Linked DNA regions of Homo sapiens: all the other regions are linked to region 1. The links are contacts of gene promoters, found by promoter capture Hi-C in human tissues and cell types (Jung and others, 2019). All regions are on one chromosome and are shown on one strand. Each heading gives the region's core, a stretch centred on a gene start or on the middle of the fragment in contact. The rest is flanking DNA. Distances are from core to core; before and after follow the strand shown. Region 1 holds the start of ZNF732 (zinc finger protein 732). Region 2 overlaps ZNF595 (zinc finger protein 595). Region 3 overlaps ZNF721 (zinc finger protein 721). Region 4 holds the start of ZNF721 (zinc finger protein 721). Region 5 overlaps ZNF718 (zinc finger protein 718). Region 6 overlaps ZNF595 (zinc finger protein 595). Region 7 has its middle 19 kb from the start of ZNF718.

Region 1 (2,958 bases), core at 431-2,930:
CAAGTGAGGGATGGACTTGGGCACACTGTGTGCACAGGAAATAAGATTTGTGAGGAAGAAAAAAGCAGAAGAGAGAAAGGAGCTATCAAGAGTCATGGTGGGGACAGGGCAGGACTGACTAAATAAAAGACTAGTTTGTGCTACAAGTGCAGGTCTAGGCAGGGTTACCATCTGACTGATTCATGTGTCCATAAAGGCAGAGGAGATTAGGATCAGGTGGTCCAGAAGCCTGGGTGGGGGAAGGAAACAGGTTCCTGCTATAGATCCAGTGTCTGGGGTTGAAATGAGCCAGGAGTCTTCCTGGCACTGTGTGTGTTATTGGCAGAATACCCTAGGAGCAAAGCTGTCACGGGCACAATTCCTGAGGGTAGAACCCTGTCCTGGGAGGAGTGTGGCAATGCGAATGGCCAGTGAGCGTCCTCGGGAGTGGGTTAGCATTAAGTGGGGGCTGGCAGCAGGGTGCAGGGAAGGGATGTTTCTCAGAACTCCTTTCCTCTAAGTTCCCAGTCCCTTCTCTCCCCGGAAGGAGACCTGGAGGAAAAGGACAGTGCCCAGCGGGACAGCACATGTGCAGAACCCGGCCGCGCCTCCCGCAGACACCAGGCATCTTTCTCCAGCCCAGGCTCAGCCATGTCTTTCTTCTGACAGAAAACGTGCGGAGTTTGCTCAACATCAGTCAATGCTCCAACCCCAACGCGGTGTCCAGCAACTCACTAACGACACCACCCAGAGTCAGCGAAGACCCCACAAGCTCAGCGCTCTTCCCGCAGCTGCCCCCCCCCTGCAGACGGCAGTCCCTGCCTCTGGACACCCGTCTTCATTTCTGAACGCCTGCCTACAAACCAGGGGCGCCCACACCCTCCTCAAGTTCAATAATGTGGCAGAACTACTCACAGAACTCAGCGAAGCGCTGTGCGCGCCCACACCAGCGTATTCTAAAAGATGCCACTCAGGAACAGCCACGCGGAGGAGGCGCACAGGGCAAGGGGACTGGTGGGCAAGTTGGAGCGGGCGGGTGATTTGCTTCGCTTCCTCACACACCTCACAAAAGCTTTTCCTTCAAGACCCGCTGGCAGCCCCCAAACCACAAGCCATGCCCGGGGCTGTCCCATTAATTAGTCCCCATTTGCTCACATGAACTCTATGTTTTGATAGGGCCTCGATCTTATTCCGAACAGGGTAAAGTAGGGACTCGACGACCGGACCACAGCTCCTCCCAGGCGGGCACCTCGCACGCCACGCAGGCGTTTTCCCGATGAGCTCCTCCTCACCCCACAGCCCAGGGAAGGTGCGGGGCTGCGGGCGCAGAGCTGCACAAGTAGGGCTGCAGGCTGGGCCAAAGCCGCCTTGCGGGGACCGACATGAACCCGGGTCCCTCACCGGAAGGGACCAAGGACTGAGGGCTGAGCGGCGGCAGCGGAGACTCCGTTCGCAGACTCCGTCCCGCCGCCGCCATTTCCCGCCGGTTCGGATGAGGCCTCCCCAGCCTTGGGACGCCCTGCCCCCACACTCACCATTTCCCCACTTCAGGGGTGTAGCGGAGTCTCAGCTACGAATCATCCAATACCCGCAGGTCACAGAGCGACGGAGGCTGAGGCTGTGACCGAATCACCGACGCCTCCCTGAGGGGTGAAAGCACGGCCGTGGAGACCCTAACCGAGCTCACGCTGGCGCAAAAGGCAAAAGCCGCGCCAGATCCCGGATGCCGCCCCCTCCTCTCCGGCTGCGCGCCTGATTGGGCAGTTCTCAATCCAGCGCTCTGATTGGATAAGATACCAAGCTCCCCACGCTCAGAATTTGAGTGACAGAACTTGCCACCACACAGTGCACTTAATGAGGCAAGAGAGACAGACTCGTGCCTCCAGGTATTTTCAGTCAGGGCTTTCTGTGCTAGGCTTGGCTCTGTTGGGGGTTCATTTTTAACCTTCTGGTGTGTAAGGTTACGCCCATTTATAAATTGTGTACGTACGCGCGCGCACACACACAGACACACACTTGTTCACAAATGGAAACAATATAATGACAATTATTTTAATATTTTAGATTTCATAACCTCTCTGTCCTCTGGTCTTTTGAGTAGGATTTTAAGGGGGAAGCAATCCTTTAAAAAATAAAATGTTAGCTATTTGTGAATTTTCAATTTTTTATTAGCCACATCAAAAATAATAAAAAGAAACAAGTGAAATTGTTTATATTTTAACCTATTGTATCCAAAATATTGTTTCAATATGTGATCAATATATAATTAGAAATAAAGTATATTTCTGATTTAATTCGTCTAAACTCACTGTGTATTTTATGTTTGCAGCACATTTTACCTCAAACCAGCCACATTCCAGGTACTCAGTAGCTACATATGTCTGGTGGCTGCCACATCGAGTACAGCCATGAGGGCTCTGACCTCAAGAAAGTGAGGGCCTGAACACGTCTTTTCTACTGGAAGTAAGGGACCAGCCTCTCTACCAACTTTTCTCCTCAGGATGAAGGATGGGTAGGACAGTGCCCCTAGAGAGAGCAGGGGCTGCAAGCTGAGAGTGTCCACGTGAAGATCACTGTCTCCCCCTTGCTGTTTGGTACCAGTGTGGTGGTCTCCTCAGTTCAACCACGTCTGGGCTCTCTTCCCATGACCAGGAAGAATAAGACATACAGACACCAGAGAGTGAGTAAAGCAGAATAGGATTTATTAAGCATAGGGAAAGCTCTCAGCAGTAAGAGGGGACATGAAAGCAGGGTGCCAGAAATGGGGCTGAGTTTATATGGCAAGAACAAGGAAGTCTTCTGTGGGCTCTGCCCAAATGGGAGGGGTAAAGTTCCCCTATAACAGTGTTGCATCTGAGCATGCCTGGGATTGACCACAGTGACTCCGTCTTGGTTATTACCCATGAGTGCCCAAGCGAAACCCACAGCAGGTGGAAAGGGTGAAGCTAAAACCAAAATACTTATGTCATGTTAGGTAAC
Region 2 (3,179 bases), core at 669-3,168, 240 kb before region 1:
AAATAGGTTTGTGAATAATTTTTTTGATACCCATCACCACAGATAAGCAAAAACGTCCTCACACTCAAAGGATTGGATACCACTGGTTTAAAGTATCTACTCACCTTCTAGATTTCTTTCTTTTTTTCTTTTTTTTTTTTTTGAGACGGAGTCTTGCTCTGTCACCAAGGCTGGAGTGCAGTGGCGTGACCTCGGCTCACTGCAACCTCTGCTGCCCTGCAGCCTCCACCTCCCGGGTTCAAATGGTTCTTCTGCCTCAGCCTCCTGAGTAGCTGGGATTACAGGTGCCCGCCACGGGGTTTCACCATGTCGGCCAGGCAGGTTTTGAACTCCTGACCTCAAGTGATCCGCCCACCTCTGCCTTCCAAAGTGCTAGAATTACAGGCCTGAGCCACCGTGCCTGGCCCGCCTTCTAGATTTCTTAAATGCACTATGTCATTAACCGGCTTAGAACATTCCTAAGTGTATATTAAGCTCTCAATTGTTACCTTATTTCTTGATAAACTATTATCTTATAATTTTGTCTTATTTAGTAGGAAGCCTCCTGGGATTCTGTCATTGAGCTATAATCCATCTATATGTAGAACTGTGTGTCACACACACATACACATACCTATATGAGTCATATATGTGTATAGGAAATTCTCGCTTAACATCATTGATAGGTTCTTGGAAACTGTAAGTAAAGCAACATATTGTTTAAGAAAACTAATTTTACCAGAGTTTAATAAATAAAAACAAGTTATGTTTGAATGGCATGTAACAACATTGTTTCATTTAAAGATGCAGTTTTCAAGAATCTATTTTGAACATTAAATGAGGACTTAACATACATCTGTGTTTGTGTGATACGGATTTTTCTGATAAAATTATATAACTATATTTAATTTGTACAATGTAATGATTTGATATGCATATACATTTTGAAACAAAATGTCAAGTTGATGAACACATTTATTACCTCACATAGATAACCATTTTTTTTTTTGTCACAAGAACACTTGAGGTCTACTGTTGTAGCAAATTGTAAGCATACTTTACAGTATTACTATAAAGACAATGCTATTTTGCTAATCTAATGCTAATGTACATTAGCTTTCTCAGACTTACTCAACTTACAACTAATCATTTGTACTCTTTGAACAGCATCTCCTCATATTCCCACCCTCAGGCACTAACAACCACCATTCTACTCTCTGTTCCTATGAGTTTACATTTTTAGATTCCTCATCTAACTGAGAACATGCAGTTTCTTTGTGTTTGGCTTATTTCACTTAGCGTAATGTCTTCAAGGTCTATCAATGCTGTAAATGGCTAGATTTCCTTCTCTTTTATGGCTGAATAGTATTCTACTGTGTGTGTATATATATAAATTTTTTTGGCTATTTTAAGCAAAACTAAAATGAACATGGGGCTGAAGATTGTTCTTTGAGGTACTAATTTTATTTCCTTTGGTAGTATTCCCAGAGGTGGTATTGCTGAATTATGTGATGCTTTCATTTTTATTTTTTACTGATTTGTATGATGACTTTATCAATTTATATCTCACTAGTGGCATACAGGATTTCCCTTGTATGTATGTCTTCTTTGTGGGAAAAACAAAACTAACCTTTTGCCTATTTTTGAATAGGTTATCATCATTATTGTTTTGCTTTGAATTGCAGAAGTTTCTTACACATTTTGGATATTAACTATCAGATATATGGCTTGCAAATATTTTTCTATTGTGTAGGATTTTTTAAAATTTTGGTTTTTTCCTTTACTGTACAGAAGCTGTACACTTTGATGCAGTCCCACTCTTTTGTATTTTCTTCTGTTGCTGTGCTTTTGATGACATACCAAATTGCCAAGACCAATATCAACAAGGTTTTTCCATATGTTTTATTCAGGAGTTTTAAGCTTTTATGTCTTACATTTAAGTCTTTTATTTTGAGTTAATTTTGGGGTATGGTATAAGAAAATTTTATTTATGGTATAGTCTAATTTTATTCTTTTGCTTGTGGATATCCAGTTTTTCTGGTACCATGTATTGACAAGACTATACTTTCTGCATTGTATATTATTGGTGGCCTTGTCAAAGATTAGTTGACCTTGTATGCATGGATATGTTTCTGGGCTCCCTATTCTGTTGCATTGGTTTTTGTATCTGTTTTTATGAATATACTATACTCTTTTGATTACCATGACCTTTAAGTAAAGTTTGAAATTAGAAAGTATGATGTCCCCAGCTTTGTTCTTTCTCAAGATTGCTCAGGTTATTTTAAGTTATTTAAGATAACACTTAAATTTTACAATTGTGTTTTCTATTACTGTGAAAAATGCCACTCAAATTTTGATAGGGATGACATTGAATCTCCATATCACTTTGGATAATATTCCTTGACAATATTAGTTATCCTAATGGAATATGTTTTCATTTATTTTTACCTACTTCAATTTCTGTCATCAATATCTTAACTGTGTTAGTGTATACATTTTTATCTCATCCTTTACATTTTAAAATTTATTTTATTTATGTACTTATTTTATGAGACAGAGTCTCACTCTGTTCCCTAGGCTGAAGTACAGTGGCACAATCTCAGCTCACTGCAACCCCCGCCTCTCAGGTTCAAGCGATTCTCCTGCCTCAGCCTCCCGAGTAGCTGGGATTACAGGCGCGCACCACCATGCCTGGCTAATTTTTTTGTATTTTTAGTGGAGATGGGGTTTTGTGACCCAGCAGCACCCTTGTGACCCAGCTATGACCTTTCTTCTCAGCAACCCCAGAGGTAATCTTATCAGCCTGGGGACCCAATAAAAGGAGATCTTTACTTGCCAAAGATAGTTTTTTTTAGTGGAGATGGGGTTTTGCCATAGTTTATAGAAACTGTTAAGAGTTGTTAGATCCTTCAAATATACAGACATGGGGCTGTTTCAGGGACCAAAGCTGAGGCCAAGATCCACAAGCATGCCTCCAGGGCCACAGCTTCTACCTTAACATATTACTGAAAGTTTGTATCAGAACAATTAGACAAGGAAAATAACAAAGCTTTCCAGCTTGGAATAAAAGTAAAAATGTTACTGTTTGTAGATAATATAATTATGCGTATATACAAAACCCTAGAGTGAAACAACAAAAACTGAACTAATAAATGCATTCATTAAGGTATCAGGATACATGACCAACATAAAAATACTTG
Region 3 (3,036 bases), core at 140-2,639, 160 kb after region 1:
TAGTAAGAAAAAGGAATTAAGACACTCTACCTGCCACCCTGCATGCGTGTGCACTCGCACACATGCTGTCTTCATGTAATCCAGTACCTTTACTTTCCTTTGAAACTGGTAAGGTTAAAATGGGGGGAAATCCTATATGTTTGCAATAATACCTTTTTGGAAAATTTAAGAAATCAAACTCCCCAGGCTCTCCATCTTCATTTATGCTTGAGTTGTTATGTGCTTTGAACTCTGATTATCAGAAGTTTTACTAAAATGTTGAAGAAATAATTCACTTTCATCTGCTTTCTACATTTTGTACATCTCAGTTCATAAAGGAAAGCTTGTTGATAGTGTAGTTTTCTAAATGCTGCAAATTTGCAGCCATTACCACTACCAAAGAAGTCTGAATGAGGGATTTTTTTCTTTCTTAAAATAGTTCCTGTTTCTGTAGAAATTTCATTTGTAGATTAAACTGCGATGGATGAGATATCAAAAAAACAAAGAAAGAAAGTGACATCTCAGGAGAAATCACTCATTATGGCAAAGAGAGTACCAAAGGCAATGGTATTAAATGATTCATGAGAATCCAACCATATAATCCAGTCACCTCCCACCAGGCCCCACCTACAACATTCAGGCTTACAATTTGATGTGAGATTTGAATGGCGCCACAGATCCAAACCATATTACTTACAAAAGCCAAAAAGTGAAAAACCTCAAACATCCTTCAACAGATGAATAATTTAAAAGGATGCGGCTTGGCCGGGCGCGGTGGCTCACGCCTGTAATCCCAGCACTTTGGGAGGCCAAGGCAGGCAGATCACAAGGTCAGGAGATAGAGATCATCCTGGCTAACACGGTGAAACCCCGTCTCTACTAAAAATACAAAAAAAAAATTAGCCGGGCGTGGTGGCAGGTACCTGTAGTCCCAGCTGGAGGCTGACGCAGGAGAATGGTGTGAAACCAGGAGGTGGAGCTTGCAGTGAGCCGAGATTGCGCCACTGCACTCCAGCCTGGGTGACAGAGCAAGACTCCATCTCAAAAAAAAAACAAACAAACAAAAAAGGATGTGGCTTACATGGCTTACACATACAATGAAAAATTCTTTAGAATCAAATGAAAATATCTTGTCGGATCATACAATAAGGATAAATCTTAAAGCCATTATTTTAATAAGACACTATTTAGACACCATTATTTAATAAGACACTAACAAAGTGACAATGTATGATTCCACTTACATAAGATATTTTAAGTAGTAAATTCCTAGAAAACATAAGTAGAATGGTGCTTGCCTATAGTTAGGGTTGTGAAACCTCAGTGGAGTCAAAGACCAAGGAAGGGTTATTTGGAAAAAGCAGGCCCTCACCCAGGTGGCCAACTCCAGAGCCCATAGACATGGCTACAGACAAGAAAATGGTGCATGCAGCTTGGTCTTACTGAGGATTATGAAGCAGTTCTCAATCTCAGCTGTAGTCCAGAAATGGTCCTTCCCATCAAGAGACCTGCAGGAAGACACACCCAGCCATGACCCTGGAGGCAGGCCTGCAGATCCTGGCCTCAGTTGTGCTCCTTGAAGCAGCCCTGTGACTCAGTTCAAGCCATTTGTAGTCACAGTCCGTGGCCACTCGTACACACTCAGAGGCCCACAGAGAGACCTATAAAAACTGTTCCCAGGGGCTGGGCGCGGTGGCTCACGCCTGTAAGCCCAGCACTTTGGGAGGCCGAGGCGGGCAAATCAGGAGGTCAGGAGATCAAGACCAGCCTGGCTAACACAGTGAAACCCCGTCTCTACTAAAAATACAAAAAATTAGCTGAGCGTGCCGGGTGCGGTGGCTCACACCTGTAATCCCAGCACTTTGGGAGGCCGAGGCGGGCGGATCACGAGGTCAGGAGATCGAGACCGCGGTGAAACCCTGTCTCTATTAAAAATACAAAAAATTAGCCTGGCACGGTGACGGGCGCCTTTAGTCCCAGCTACTTGGGGGGCTGAGGCAGGAGAATGGCATGAACCCAGCAGGCGGAGCTTGCAGTGAGCTGAGATAGCACCACTGCACTCCAGCCTGGGTGACAGAGTGAGACTCCGACTCAAAAAAAAAAAAAAATTAGCTGGGTGTGATGGAAGCGCCTGTACTCCCAGCTAGTTGGGAGGCTGAGGCAGGAGAATCGCTTGAACCTGGGAGGCGGAGGTTGCAGTGAGCCAAGTTCATGGCACTACACTCCAGCCTGGGCGACAGAACCAGATTCCGTCACAAAAAAAAGAAAAAAAAAAACTGTTCCCAGGTAGTCAGTAAAAGCTAAACCCATTTATACACCTGGTATTTGGGCCATCATATGCAGACAAATTTCAAAACCCAATCCTACTGCCTGCCATATAGATTAATGTCCTCAAGGAAATCTAATCTTTCCAGGGCCCAGAAAGAATCTGTGACTGTCTAAATCTCTGGTAACACAACCCTCAAAGGCAGGCCACACAGCAGACCCAGCAGCACCCTTGAGACTCAGCTACAACCCTTCTTCTCTGCAACCCCAGAGGTAATCTCATCAGCCTGGGGACCCAACAAAAGGAGATGTTTACCTGTCAAAAAACAGATTATACAAACTGTAATCATTGTTAAATCCTTAAAATATACAGACACAGGGCTGCTTCAGGGACCACAGCTGAAGCCAAGATCTGCAAGCATGCCTCCAGGACCACAGCTTCTATCTTAACATTATTACCAAAAGTTTGTATCAGAACAATTAGGCAAGAAAAAGGAGAACAAAGCTCTCCTGCCTGCAAAAGAAGAAAAAATGTTACTGTTTGTAGATAATATGATCATGCATATATATGAAACCCTAGAGTAGAATAACAAAAACTGAACTAATAAATGCATTCATTAAGGTATCAGGATACATAACCAACATGTAAATACTTGCAGGTTGTTTTTTTGTGTGTTTTTGAAACATGGTCTCACTCTGAGGCCCAGGCTCATCTCAAACTCCTGTGCTCAAGTGATCCACATGCCTTGGCCTCTGAAAGTGCTGGGATTACAAAAATGAACCACTACACCT
Region 4 (3,048 bases), core at 321-2,820, 190 kb after region 1:
CATATGTATAATAACAGGCCGGACAGGGCGCGGTGTCTCACGCCTGTAATCCCAGCTCTTTGGGAGACAGAGGCGGGCGGATCACGAGGTCAGGAGATTGAGACCATCCTGGCTAACATGGTGAAACCCGTCACTACTAAAAAATACAAAAAAAAAAAAAAAATTTGACGGGCGTGGCGGCGGGCGCCTGTAGTCCCAGCTACACGGGAGGCTGCGGTAGGAAAATGGCGTGAACCCGGGAGGCGGAGCTTGCAGTGAGCGGAGATGGTGCCACTGCACTCCAGGCTGGGCGACAGAGCGAGACTCCGTCTCAAAAACAAACCAACAAAAAAAAAACAGGCCGGGCGCGGTGGCTCATGCCTGTAAATCCCAGCACTCTGGGAGGCCGAGGCGGGCGGATCACGAGGTCAGGAGTTCAAGAACAGCCTGACCAACATGGTGAAACCCCGTCTCAACTAAAAATACAAAAATTAGCCGTGCGTGGTGGCACGCACCTGTAATCCCAGCTACTCAGGAGGCTGAGGCAGGAGAATTGCTTGAACCCGGGAGGCAGAGGTTGCAGTGATCTGAGATCACGCCACTGCATTCCAGCCTGGGCGACAGAGTGAGATTTCATCTGAAAAGAAAAAGAAAAAAAAAAAAAAAAAAAAAAAAAGAAGGACATTGGTTCTGTCCAGAAAGGCGGGGGCAACTTGGAACAGGGAGGGGGCTTCCAGGTCACAGGTAGGTGACAGACAAATGGTTGCAGTTTCTGGGTTTCTGATAAGCCTCTCCAAAGGAGGCTATCAATATGCATTTATCTCAGTGAGCAGAGGAATGACTTTGAATAGAATGGGAGGCAGGTTTGTCCTGAGCAGTTCCGAGCTTGTCTTTTCCCTTAGTTTAGTAATTTTGGGGCCCCAAGATTTTCCTTTCAGAAAAAAGAAAATGTGGTATATATACACAATGGAGTACTATTCAGCTCTAATAAAAGAATGAAACCCTATCATTTGCCACAACACGGATAAACCTGAGGATATCATGTAAGCAAAATAAGACACAGAAAGACAAATACCTCATGATCTCACTCATGTGGCATCTTTAAAACGAAGTTAATCATTAAGATATTTACCAGTTGTCTGAGGTATTGGGTTGAATTTTCTTTTTTTTTTTTTTTTTGAGACGCAGTCTCGCTCTGTTGCCAGGCAGAAGTGCAGTGGCGCGATCTCGGCTCACTGCAACCTCCGCCTCCCAGGTTCAAGCGATTCTCCTGCCTCGGCCTCCCGAGTAGCTGGGACGACAGGCACCCGCCATCACGCCCCGCTAATTTTTTGTATTTTTAGTTGAGACGGGGTTTCACCATGTTGGCCAGGATAGTCTCGATCTCCTGACCTCGTGATCCGCCCGCCTCGGCCTCCCAAAGTACTGGGATTAAAGGCGTGAGCCACTGCACCCTGCCTTCCAAATTAAAAACTTTTTAAAACCTCGTACCTCGCCGTGGGCGGCGACCGTCGCGGACTCGCCGGGAAGACGGCCCCACGGAGCCGGGAACACCGCCCGCTGTTCGTATGTCCGAGGTGACGCCCCGCTGTGGCGGGCTGGCGGAAGTGACGCGCTGCTGTGGCGCGCCGGCGGACGTGACGCCACTGTCGCTGCGACGATAAGGCCTGGCGTTATTGCTTAGAGGCGGCTACCTGGAGCCGGAAGCGCGGCTGCAGCAGGGCGAGGCTCCAGGTGGGGTCGGTTCCGCATCCAGCCTAGCGTGTCCACGATGCGGCTGGGCTCCGGGACTTTCGCTACCTGTTGCGTAGCGATCGAGGTGCTAGGGATCGCGGTCTTCCTTCGGGGATTCTTCCCGGCTCCCGTTCGTTCCTCTGCCAGAGCGGAACACGGAGCGGAGCCCCCAGCGCCCGAACCCTCGGCTGGTACGGACCCCTCCCCGGCGTCTCCGCTCCCCTGACCCCACATCCCCTAGAAGACCTTTTTTCTGAGCCTCGCTGCTCGGATTTCTTCTCGGCGCTCCCCGGTGGTCTCTTCCATTATGGTCCCCACCTCAGAAATTTTTTTTAACCGCTCCAGCGTCTCTTTTCTGTATTCTTACAACTTTGTGGCAACCACCTCTACTGGCCCCACTTCGACCTTCCTTCCTGATCACCACAAAGTAAGCTGTGTCCATACCTGGGATCCAGCCTCTCCACTTCTACTCGTCCAGAGCTCCCGCCCCTTTCCTGAGCAGCCTTTGGGTCACTCCCCGTTATAGGCGCCCTTTTTGCCCCCTAGCACACAACAGATAAGACCCCTGCCGATCCCCTCGCGTTTTGGTCTCTTATATTCCTCCAAGATGTTTTCCCTGCCTAGGGGCTAAGGCCTCTCTGCGTTAGGCCTCTTCCTAGGCTTCACCTACCCAGCCATATACAGCAAGTAAAGGCGCCCTGGTTCTGGACCACTTGCACACATCGCCAGCCGCTGACCATGTAAACGCAGTATGTAAACGCCCAGCCATCCCGTAGCTGCAGCTCTGCGTTTTAGGTCAAGCTCCCTAAATGTCCCATTCCAGGACCCTTACGTAGGGATTCTCCTACCCCAGTACTCTTCACCATACTGAGGATAATTCACTGCTTGCTACTGTGGGTCCCTAAGATTACTCCTGTTAACCCCCGTCCTTTCCCCCCAGCACTACCTACCAAGTACAAGTCGCCTCCTTTTGGGTTGGGTTATGTAGATATCGCAGGGTATGTGCTGGAGAAGTAGGTAGAAGCTAGATTGTGAAGGTGCTTGATGCTAAGGAAAGTTTAGAGTTCAATTTCCTTTTTTTTCTTTCAAACACTTAGGAGCCAGTTCTAACTGGACCACGCTGCCACCACCTCTCTTCAGTAAAGTTGTTATTGTTCTGATAGATGCCTTGAGAGATGATTTTGTGTTTGGGTCAAAGGGTGTGAAATTTATGCCCTACACAACTTACCTTGTGGAAAAAGGAGCATCTCACAGTTTTGTGGCTGAAGCAAAGCCACCTACAGTTACTATGCCTCGAATCAAGGTAAGTTTGCCTTAATGTTTTATGAATCATGG
Region 5 (3,153 bases), core at 203-2,702, 160 kb before region 1:
AGTATATGCTGTCAATTATAATTATGGTTATTATGTTATTATAAACTGCAGAAATAATCAAATTTCCTTGTATAAAGCTACTGACCTACTAACACAAGTAAAACAAAAATTAAATACCAAAACAATACAATACAATTAAAGCTTCAGGTATATTTGGTCACCTGGTGGGCCATTTAAACATTTTATAAAGGGATTTCATTCAGTTGTTATTTTCAATGCATGTTTTCTGTTGTATAAAAGCTTTACTATGCAAGGAGGCTGAGATTATTATGCTACAGTATATTTCCAGCAGGTAAAAAAGCTTTTTATGGTTTAAATCTTCTGAGAACATAGGAGAAAAACTGTCCTTGCCACCCACACTACAACAAAATGTCAGGACTTTGGGCTTTAGGTTAACGGGTTTTGATAAGGGTCCCTCCACATTTTTGGAACTGTGCAGCCATTGGAACCCTTGAGGTGAAGCTAACCAGGGAGATTTCTCCCAAGAAGATGGCATCCTTGATGTAAACAGCTTTTCCCAAGTTCACAAATTAAAACTTCTATCATAAAACTCTTACCTTTGAATTTTTTTTCTTATGCTTCTACAAACATTAAAAGTAGAAAAGGGATCTGTTAAGTGCATTTATGGAGTATACTTCTATTTGTGAAGGAGTTTGCAGCCAGCCTTATATATGGATAAGCTTATACTTAGATAAATAAAAGATGAAAGCCCAGTCAGTGTAAGTAAGAAACTTTAATGGTACATACATTGCCTCATAATCAGTCCAAAAACAAAACATTGGTTCACTCCTGTTAACCCACACCGTGGGCTAAAGAGACCATTGCCAGGAGGCCTTCACTCTTCTAGAGGGGCATCATTTGTTAGGTCCTTTCCCATGGTTTAAAGTAAAAGAAGCAATGATTTAAAAAGGTATCCCTCATGATAGGCTCTATAGCAAATTCTACTGTAAAGGCTACAGTTACACAATAGACTTTAAATTCTTTTGTGAAAGTTATAATAGAATTGACTAAACAAAGAGGTACCTGTGCAGCTGCTGGCACTTGTGGCTTATGGAGAAATACATCAAATGAAGATTATAGAAATTCAGTGGTAGGGGATTAACAAAGAAATTGCTTAGTTAAGTAAGTAAACTCTTTATCTGGCTCATTCTTTGATCTATTTAATTTTACGAGGTTTGGTTTATGGAAACCTTGAGTAAGGAGCATACTGTGAACTCTTGGTATTTTCCTCCCAATAGTCATAATAATAGTCTCCCTTGTGTGCTGTATTCTCTCAAAGGTTTTAAATGCTTGCATGCAGCCATCTCTAGGATGTCATATGGTCTCTCTTCAACTAGAATAACAGAAGCTAAAAGAAACGTGCAACCATGAGAACACCGTAACCTATAAATAATGTGCTGAGACCAGAAATCCAAAATGATGGTAACTGAGAGTGGCTCTAAGGCCCTAAATTTTGGACACACACTAATCTAAGTGAGAACCTAACCAAAAAGGGGGAATTTCGTTTTGTTTTGTTTGAGACGGAGTCTCTGTCACCCAGACTGGAGTGCAGTGGTGTAATCTTGGCTCACTGCAACCTCTGCCTCCCAGGTTCAAGCAATTCTTTGCCTCAGCCTCCCAAGTAGCTGGGATTAGTGCCTACCACCACGCCTGGCTAATTTTTCTATTTTTAGTAGAGACGGGGTTTCACCATTTTGTCCAGGCTGATCTTGAACTCCTGACCTTGTGATCCACCTGCCTTAGCCTCCCAAAGTGCTAGGATTACAGGCGTGAGCCAGTGTGCACGGCCAAGGGGGAAGTTTTTAAACAAAATTCTGGGATGCCATTGTTTTGGACTAAGCTCATACACTAGGCACCAACAGACCAAAACAAAATGGAGTTGCTTGTGCCAAGACTTTAAGGAAACACATAAATTCTAGAACAAATCAGGTTTTTTTTCTCCTGCAAATCTCTGTAACAAACATTCTTAACAGCATAGGTATCCACCCCCATTATATCTTTTAACCAAACACGTTTGCTCTTGCCTAGAGACCATCAAGCTTCACTGATCATGCAGTGAAATCTCCAGCCAGTTCCAGGTGAAAACACACCCCTGGCCATCAAGAAACTACCCTGCCTCCACTAGACAGAACAGGGCGAGAGTACTGTGATCCCCAATAGACAGGGACTATGCCCCAAGCCAGCATAAAGCAGTTACAGAAAGAAAAAGACCGTTGACCCCCCCGTCTCCTATAAGGATTTATGGGGATCACATCTCTCGGGGGACATGAGGCAGGAAAACGGTCTGGAGGCAGGGACCATAAGCCCAATTCACACTTCAGCTATAACAGGAAATATCCTCTCCATAGGGCATCCACCGTTAATAACTAAATTTACTTCACCCTCTCCATTTACGTTGGGCATACCCAAAGTAACCAATGGAATACTCTAGGTGGTATTTAAGCTCCCAAAAATTCTGTAAGGGGGCCTTCGAGCCCCTATGCTCGGGCCCGCACTGTGGAGTGTACTTTCATTTTTAGTAAATCCTTTTATTCCTTCCTTGCTTTGTGTATTTTGTCCAATTCTTTGTTCAAGATGCCAAGAACCCGGATACTTTCTAGCGGTAACAATATATTCCTGACAGCTTTGTCAAAAAGAAGTTTGCTGTAATATGGATTTATCTCTGCATTCGCTCTACTGTTTTACTGATCAGTTTTATGCCATTTTAATTACGGTAGCTCTGTTGTATCATTTAAATTCAAATACTATGATTCCTCCAGTTTCTTTTCTGGTACAATGGCTTTGGCTATTTTGAGTCTTTTATGGGTCTGTCTACATTATAAGATTGTTTTTCCTATTTCTGTGAAGAATGTCATTGATGCTTTGATAGGAATTGCATTAAATCTGTAGATCATTTTGGGTAGTATGAAAATTTTAATAATACTGATCCTTCCTATTCATGAACATAAAATATCTTTCCTTTTTTTTCTCTTGTTTAATTTCTTGCATCGATGTTTTATAGTATTCATCATAGAGATCTTTCACTTCTTTGGTTAAGTTCATTCCTGGTATTTAATTTTAATTTGTGGCTACCGTAAATGGAATTACTCTCTTGGTTTGATTTTCACATTGTTCACTGTTGGCATGTAGAAACACTAATTTTTTAATCCTGTA
Region 6 (2,844 bases), core at 180-2,679, 220 kb before region 1:
TTCTATTTCCTTGAGTATTCTTTTCTGATTATTCATTACAGAAATTGAGCTATTGAAATATCCTACTATAATTATATTGCTCTCTATGTCTTGCTTTACTTCTGTCAGTATTTGCTTTATATATTTGGAACCCTAATGTAAGACACACATACACACACACACACAAATATATGTATATACACACATTTTTCAGGGTTTCCTAGTAAATGAACATTTTTAATATAGTTTATGTTCTTCTTTGTCTCTTATGAGCTTTTAGTTAAAATAAGTTTTATGAAATGGGAGTTTTTGACTTTAGATGTACTTTGGGTAATATAATTTTGACCTCTTCTGTTTGGTTCTTTGCATAAAGTTTTTTCTTTCATCTTGCCTTTTTCAGTCTCCTTTAATCATTAGATCTCAAGTGACTCTTGTGAAAAAGCAAGTTGTGGCTGGGTGTAGTGGCTCACGCCTGTAATCCCAGCACTTTGGAAGGCCGAGGTGGGTGGTCACGAGGTCAGGAGATTGAGATCACTGGCTAACATGGTGAAACCCCGTCTCTACTAAAAATACAAAAACAAAATTAGCCGGGCGTGGTGGCGGGTACCTGTAGTCCCAGCTACTCAGGAGGCCAAGGTGGAAGAATGGTGTGAACCCAGGAGGCAGAGCTTGCAGTGAGCCGAGATCACGCCACTGCACTCCAGCCTGGGTGACAGAGTGAGACTCCGTCTCAAAAAAAAAAAAAAAAAAAAAAAAAAGAAAGAAAGAAAGAAAAACAAGTTGTATCTTGTTTTTTGATTTCTTAAATAAATTTATTTGCATGTATTTCCAATGCAAAGATTACTTCATAAATATTTAAATAATTTGCTGAAATGGAAAGGCTTATTCATGTTATTTTATTAATTGTTTTACTTGATTATTGTATTTTTGTCCCTTATTTTCTTTTCTGTCTTCCTTTTGACTTTTGTGTGGATAGATTTTTACTTCTTATTTTATTCATGTTATTTTATTAATTGTTTTACTTGATTATTGTATTTTTGTCCCTTATTTTCTTTTCTGTCTTCCTTTTGACTTTTGTGTTGATAGATTTTTACTTATTTTTTCATGTATCCATACAGATACTTACTTTTTGGTATTTTGGAAATTACATAAAATTTCTTAAAATAATACATTTTAAACTGGTTATTTCAGTTGCGTTTGAAAATTCTTCCTCATTACATCTGCCCTCAACTTTGTTATTAATGTCACTAATTATATTTTTATGTTGCTTATTTATTAACAGATTATGATGAACAGTTTATGATCATTTTTATGCTCTTTAAAATTTTAGAGAATAATTAAAATGTTTTCTGCACTATCATGATAATGGTACAGAACCTTACATTTGTATATGTTCATGTCTTTCCCAAAAAGTTACTTATTTTCATATGATTATGTTTTGTTTTCTTGCATCATATTATTTTCAGTGGAAGATACTTTCTTCAGCATTTCTTTTCTAAGGCAGGTGTTGTGCTAATACACTTTTTCAACATTTGGTTATCTTGAAAGAGCTTTACTTTTTCTTCATTTTTAGGACAGTTTTGCATGTTATGGTATTCCTGCTTACAAGCTTTCTTTCAGCATTTTAACTATATCACAATTCCCTCTTGTCTAAAAAAATTTTGTTGACAGATTCACTGGTTATGTAAGACCACACTTATAAATGACACATCACTTTTATCTTGCAACTCCTAAGATTCTCTGTCTTTGACTTTTGAAACTTTGCTTATATAAATCTCTGTGTATGTATCCTAGTTGAAGTTTGTTGAGCTTCTTCATTTTTTACATCCTTATTTTACTTTTGGAACTTTCTCACTCATTACTTTTGTATTTTTCACATCCACAATTTGTTTTTTATATTTTAACGTTTTCATCGATACCTCATTTGTCTTATTATATTTAGTTGTATGTGTTCCCCTTTAGCTCATTGAGGATTTTTCAGGTTAATTTTTTAAAATTTCTACATCTTCATTTCTTATGGTTGTTTTCTGAAAAGTTTTAAATTTTTTAATTGGGCCATGTTGCCCTAATATTTTGTATATATTGTAACATCTGTTTGTTATTTGAACATTAACAAAAAGGTATTTGTCACAATCTTTACAGTGTTGCCTTGTCCTGACATAGTCTGAAACCTGTTGTCTTTGATAGAGATAATGGGAGCCTCTCATACATGTTCTAAGGATGTGTCTTGTCTGGAATTTTGTGTTTGTTTTTCAGTGAAAAGGGATTATTCATGTTTCTTCTTATGGTCTCTAGTCACTCTTCTACCTATTCCCTGTATTTAACACTGCAGCCTGCTCCTGAAACATTTACGTTTGGTCTTAGCAGACCCAAGCTGTTCTTCCAAAGTATAGCACCGTTTCTCTCAGCTCTCTGTGTTGTTGGAGACAGAAACCAGATTTTGTAAAGACCCCAGAAAGCCAGAAGTAAGGATATGTGTATCAGTATTTTTCTTCTAAGTAAGAAGCCAGGAGTTGACAGTTTACTCCTATAGGCACAATGCTATATTGGGGAGGAGGAAAGCTGTGGTGGGTAAATATAACAAACTTTCCTTCCTGTTCCATGTGGTTCTTAGTATTGTACTTACCTGAGGCGTTGCATACAGTTAACTCATTTACAGATTTTGCACAAAGGTATTTTGGTTTGTATATCTTTGTTACATGTCTGTGAAGAAATTATGGCCTGTGATATTTTGTTATGCTATCTTACTAATGCAGTTTGTATACATTTTCGATATTACATTCGTAAAGTATATTCATATGAATCTAGTAAGTGGGATAATTTGTTATTTTTATTTCTTTCAGCTATATGTTCTCCTTTCAGCCA
Region 7 (3,061 bases), core at 190-2,689, 200 kb before region 1:
ACATGTTACACTATTAACTCATTTAAGGGACTCCATGAGGCAGGTACTGCTATCTTCACTTTACAGGAGACACTGAGCACAGGCAAGTAACTTGCCCATGGTCACAAACCTGGAAATAGCAGAGCAGCTGGGATGTGAACCCAGAGTCTGTGTACTTAGCCACAGTGCAATCCTGCATAACTACAGAACAAACTATGTGTGTGAGCTCTGATGGCAAGGCAAGCTGGCTGGGTTTAGATCCTGGCTCCTCGACTCTGGGGCAGCATGGTCTTGACCTGCCTGTGCTTTAGTTTCCTCCTCTGTAAAATAAGCATAATAACAGTGTCTTCTGGGTTTGGAGCTGTCTCCAGGTTTAGCCTCCCTGTGTTTTTTCTGTCCCCTTCACACTCTGGCCACCAGCCAGTCCTGCTTATAATAATCTCCTCCCATTCCATACCAAGGCTCTGGTAAATTAATGTCTGTGCAGGGTGTGAATGACTGACAGCAACTAACTCAATTTCCTAGCAGCCTAATCCAGAAGGATGCCTTCCTAAAAATAATATTCTAATTTTGGATAAATTTTAATTTATTAAAATTATAATTTTAATTGTTATTAATTCCTGGGGACAGGCTGGTGAAAAAATTTCCTGGGGACAGTCTGATGTCAAAAATCCATTTCCTTTACAGGATTACAAGAAAATAAGAACTATCAATATCTCTAAAAGACCATGTTCACTTGCAGTGTTTATGAGGTTAAATGGTTGATGCAGGATAAAAGGCTTTCATTTGGCTCCTTGACTTTCTGGGTTTTTGGATTTTCCTGTGTTTGGTCATCACCTTCTCTCTCCTCCTCAGCATGGCTGTGCTTGTTCCCTAAACCTACACCTGTGCTCACACCAGGCCTTCTGCCTGGTAGTCCAACCCATAAACCCTTTTTCTTTTTTTTTTCTAGACAATTAAGTTAAACTCAGGGTGACTTTTAATATTGCCAGTCAATATTAATGAAACACAAGTCAAAGACAAATACAAACATATTTTACAACAAAATCAGTGAGAAAGCCATGGACAAATTCTTTTTTTTTTTTTTTTTTTGCAAAATACATTAGCCAGTATTAGTAGTCAAACGGCTAATCACAGAAAAAAATCTATTTTGTAAAAAACTTGGAATGTCAGAAGTAATTCTGGCATTACAAACAGCTGTGTAGAGGATCACCAAGATAAGTTTATATACACATACACTTGAGAGAAACCAGACAAAACATTGAACAACAGACTAACAATATGATCAAATACAAAATTGGGAAGGAGGTATTTTTTTAAGAGTCAGGGAAGTTCATTACCAGAACAAAATTACAAAACTCAGTAATTATTATACTGGATTAATACAAAATTCCAAAGCTTTAAAGTTCAAAGAAAAAAAAAAGGCCAATAGCTGCTTTTCATCAAGACCAGCTGTACACTTTACATATTTGTTTCAAAAAGAAAGCCTATTAACAACAGTAATTGTTTAATGCTAAAAGTTTACAGCAGAGACAAAACTGAAATAGCAAATTTATAAGGCAATACTTCCACAGAATTATCATCCCATGTCTCATGCTAAGGCTACAAAGTGCTCCCAGTTGGATATACAAGTATAATTCACTTAAAACATATATATATAGAGAGAGAGAGAGAGAGAAATTTCATACACAGGTGCATTGAAGGCTGAGTAGTAATGGGCGGTTTTAGCATTTGCCTTATTGAGAGAATATGTTTGTGATCAAGCCCTTGAATCCTTTCTTCAGGCCACCGCGGGAAAAGATACCTTCATTACAGGACAACAGCACACTGAGAGCAACACACCACCACAGCGGTTAATTTTGCAAAGACTGCGTTAACATCCGCCAGTGACTGACATTTTACAGAAGACAGACTGGTAAGACTATATAAAAGCCTGAAAAAGCTATGGTCAAAATACAGTTTTCAATTGTAATTCACAAATAAAAGTCCTAATCAGTAAAACCACTGACACCAATAGAGAGAGTAATTGCAAATTGGATTCTAGCAGTGATTTCGACCTAGCTTGCTTTTTTCATAGTGTTTTTTGCGGGATGAGTAGGTGGGAAATGAGTAGTTTACTAGAAGGCTGACAGAGCACTTCATTTTCTTTCTAATAAGCCAAGATGTTGTGTTCCTATGCGTGGTGGACCTAGTGGCCTCTGATCAGTGAAGAGTGCTCCTTCCTCAGCTGCAGCCTTTACCATCTATGCCCTCGTGAGTTCTTTTTGTAAAAGTGTATTTTTGAAAGTTTCAACATTCAATCCTATACACAGTGGTTCTCTACTCTTCCTAGAAGCAGACAGCAGCAGTGAATGCTTTAGAGGGCCATTGCTGAGGGTCTTCTCTCTGGATATGAATGAATCATAACTTTTAGCAACTCTGAAAATTCTTGGGAAAGCACTTGTGGTATCTGAGGTAATCTATTCTCTCTGATTCCATGCCATTGGTCTCCATTCCTGGGAAGAGCACAGACCAGCAGCACAGACCACTGTGAGGGGAAGTGCAAGATATCTGCTTTTGGTAGATGGTATAATTCTCCTGTAAAACTTCACTTGCAAAAAAAAAAAAAGACTATCAGTCTCTTCAACTTGTGGGTTAGAGATCCTTGTTACATACCCACAATCACGAATTTTACAGGTAACTTTGTTGGATGCCCAGTCATCTTCATCTCCTTCTTCAGAGGCAGCACTGGGGATTGAGGTTTGAGACAAGGTTCCTTATCCCTGTGAATTAAAGACATTGAATGAATATACCTCGAGCCCCGGCCAACTTGCAGAAGGAGATCCTTCAACTCTGCTTCTTTAAAGTAACTCGTGATTCGGTAATTTTCACTTATAGCATCAACAAACCTTCCACCATCACGGTATCCATTCTGTGTAAGCATATGAGCATCTGCCCAAGCAGACAAGTGTCAAAGTACGCGAATGCCGTCCGAGCACTGCCTGAGCATACACTTCTCTCAAAGGGTTCTGCTCATCAACGGAGCCGGCCAGTGACTTTTCTGATCGCTTAATGGCATAAATACATGTATCCAGCCTCTCCA

Evidence for each region. Contacts are between HindIII fragments. The study calls those that stand out against the background at their distance.
Region 2: a fragment that was not itself captured here is called in contact with the fragment with the promoter of ZNF732 in region 1 in 4 of the 25 tissues and cell types used here (H1 embryonic stem cells, dorsolateral prefrontal cortex, mesenchymal stem cells and 1 more).
Region 3: a contact is called between a fragment that was not itself captured here and the fragment with the promoter of ZNF732 in region 1, in 1 of the 25 tissues and cell types used here (lymphoblastoid cells).
Region 4: a contact is called between the fragment with the promoter of ZNF721 here and the fragment with the promoter of ZNF732 in region 1, in 1 of the 25 tissues and cell types used here (spleen).
Region 5: a contact is called between a fragment that was not itself captured here and the fragment with the promoter of ZNF732 in region 1, in 7 of the 25 tissues and cell types used here (dorsolateral prefrontal cortex, heart left ventricle, liver and 4 more).
Region 6: a contact is called between a fragment that was not itself captured here and the fragment with the promoter of ZNF732 in region 1, in 3 of the 25 tissues and cell types used here (IMR-90 fibroblasts, lymphoblastoid cells and mesendoderm cells).
Region 7: a contact is called between a fragment that was not itself captured here and the fragment with the promoter of ZNF732 in region 1, in 2 of the 25 tissues and cell types used here (dorsolateral prefrontal cortex and spleen).

Annotation. Positions count from the first base shown.
Region 1 is chr4:303,794-306,751 of GRCh38, forward strand. ZNF732 (zinc finger protein 732) reads right to left here and starts at 1,681. Exons shown (of 4, transcript NM_001137608.3): 1 at 1,515-1,681. The coding sequence starts at 1,517. The HindIII fragment of the contact is 17,523 bases long and covers 1-2,958 here.
Region 2 is chr4:61,030-64,208 of GRCh38, forward strand. All of the region lies in intron 3 of ZNF595 (zinc finger protein 595), which reads left to right. Among named protein-coding and RNA genes, the nearest start is that of ZNF595, 9.3 kb to the left of the region's middle. The HindIII fragment of the contact is 3,988 bases long and covers 1-3,179 here.
Region 3 is chr4:466,195-469,230 of GRCh38, forward strand. The region is part of intron 2 of ZNF721 (zinc finger protein 721); the gene reads right to left. It also overlaps the pseudogene ABCA11P. Among named protein-coding and RNA genes, the nearest start is that of ZNF721, 31 kb to the right of the region's middle. The HindIII fragment of the contact is 4,523 bases long and covers 1-3,036 here.
Region 4 is chr4:497,586-500,633 of GRCh38, forward strand. ZNF721 (zinc finger protein 721) reads right to left here and starts at 1,571. Exons shown (of 3, transcript NM_133474.4): 1 at 1,471-1,571. It overlaps PIGG (phosphatidylinositol glycan anchor biosynthesis class G (EMM blood group)), which reads left to right and starts at 1,625. Exons shown (of 13, transcript NM_001127178.3): 1 at 1,625-1,904; 2 at 2,811-3,016. The coding sequence starts at 1,751. RefSeq lists enhancers at 857-1,722, 1,286-1,765, 1,723-2,586. The HindIII fragment of the contact is 23,753 bases long and covers 1-3,048 here.
Region 5 is chr4:141,697-144,849 of GRCh38, forward strand. The region is part of intron 3 of ZNF718 (zinc finger protein 718); the gene reads left to right. Among named protein-coding and RNA genes, the nearest start is that of ZNF718, 19 kb to the left of the region's middle. The HindIII fragment of the contact is 4,248 bases long and covers 1-3,153 here.
Region 6 is chr4:82,909-85,752 of GRCh38, forward strand. ZNF595 (zinc finger protein 595) reads left to right here. Exons shown (of 4, transcript NM_182524.4): 4 at 2,823-2,844. Among named protein-coding and RNA genes, the nearest start is that of ZNF595, 31 kb to the left of the region's middle. The HindIII fragment of the contact is 3,659 bases long and covers 1-2,844 here.
Region 7 is chr4:103,866-106,926 of GRCh38, forward strand. It overlaps the pseudogene WEE1P1. Among named protein-coding and RNA genes, the nearest start is that of ZNF718, 19 kb to the right of the region's middle. The HindIII fragment of the contact is 6,771 bases long and covers 1-3,061 here.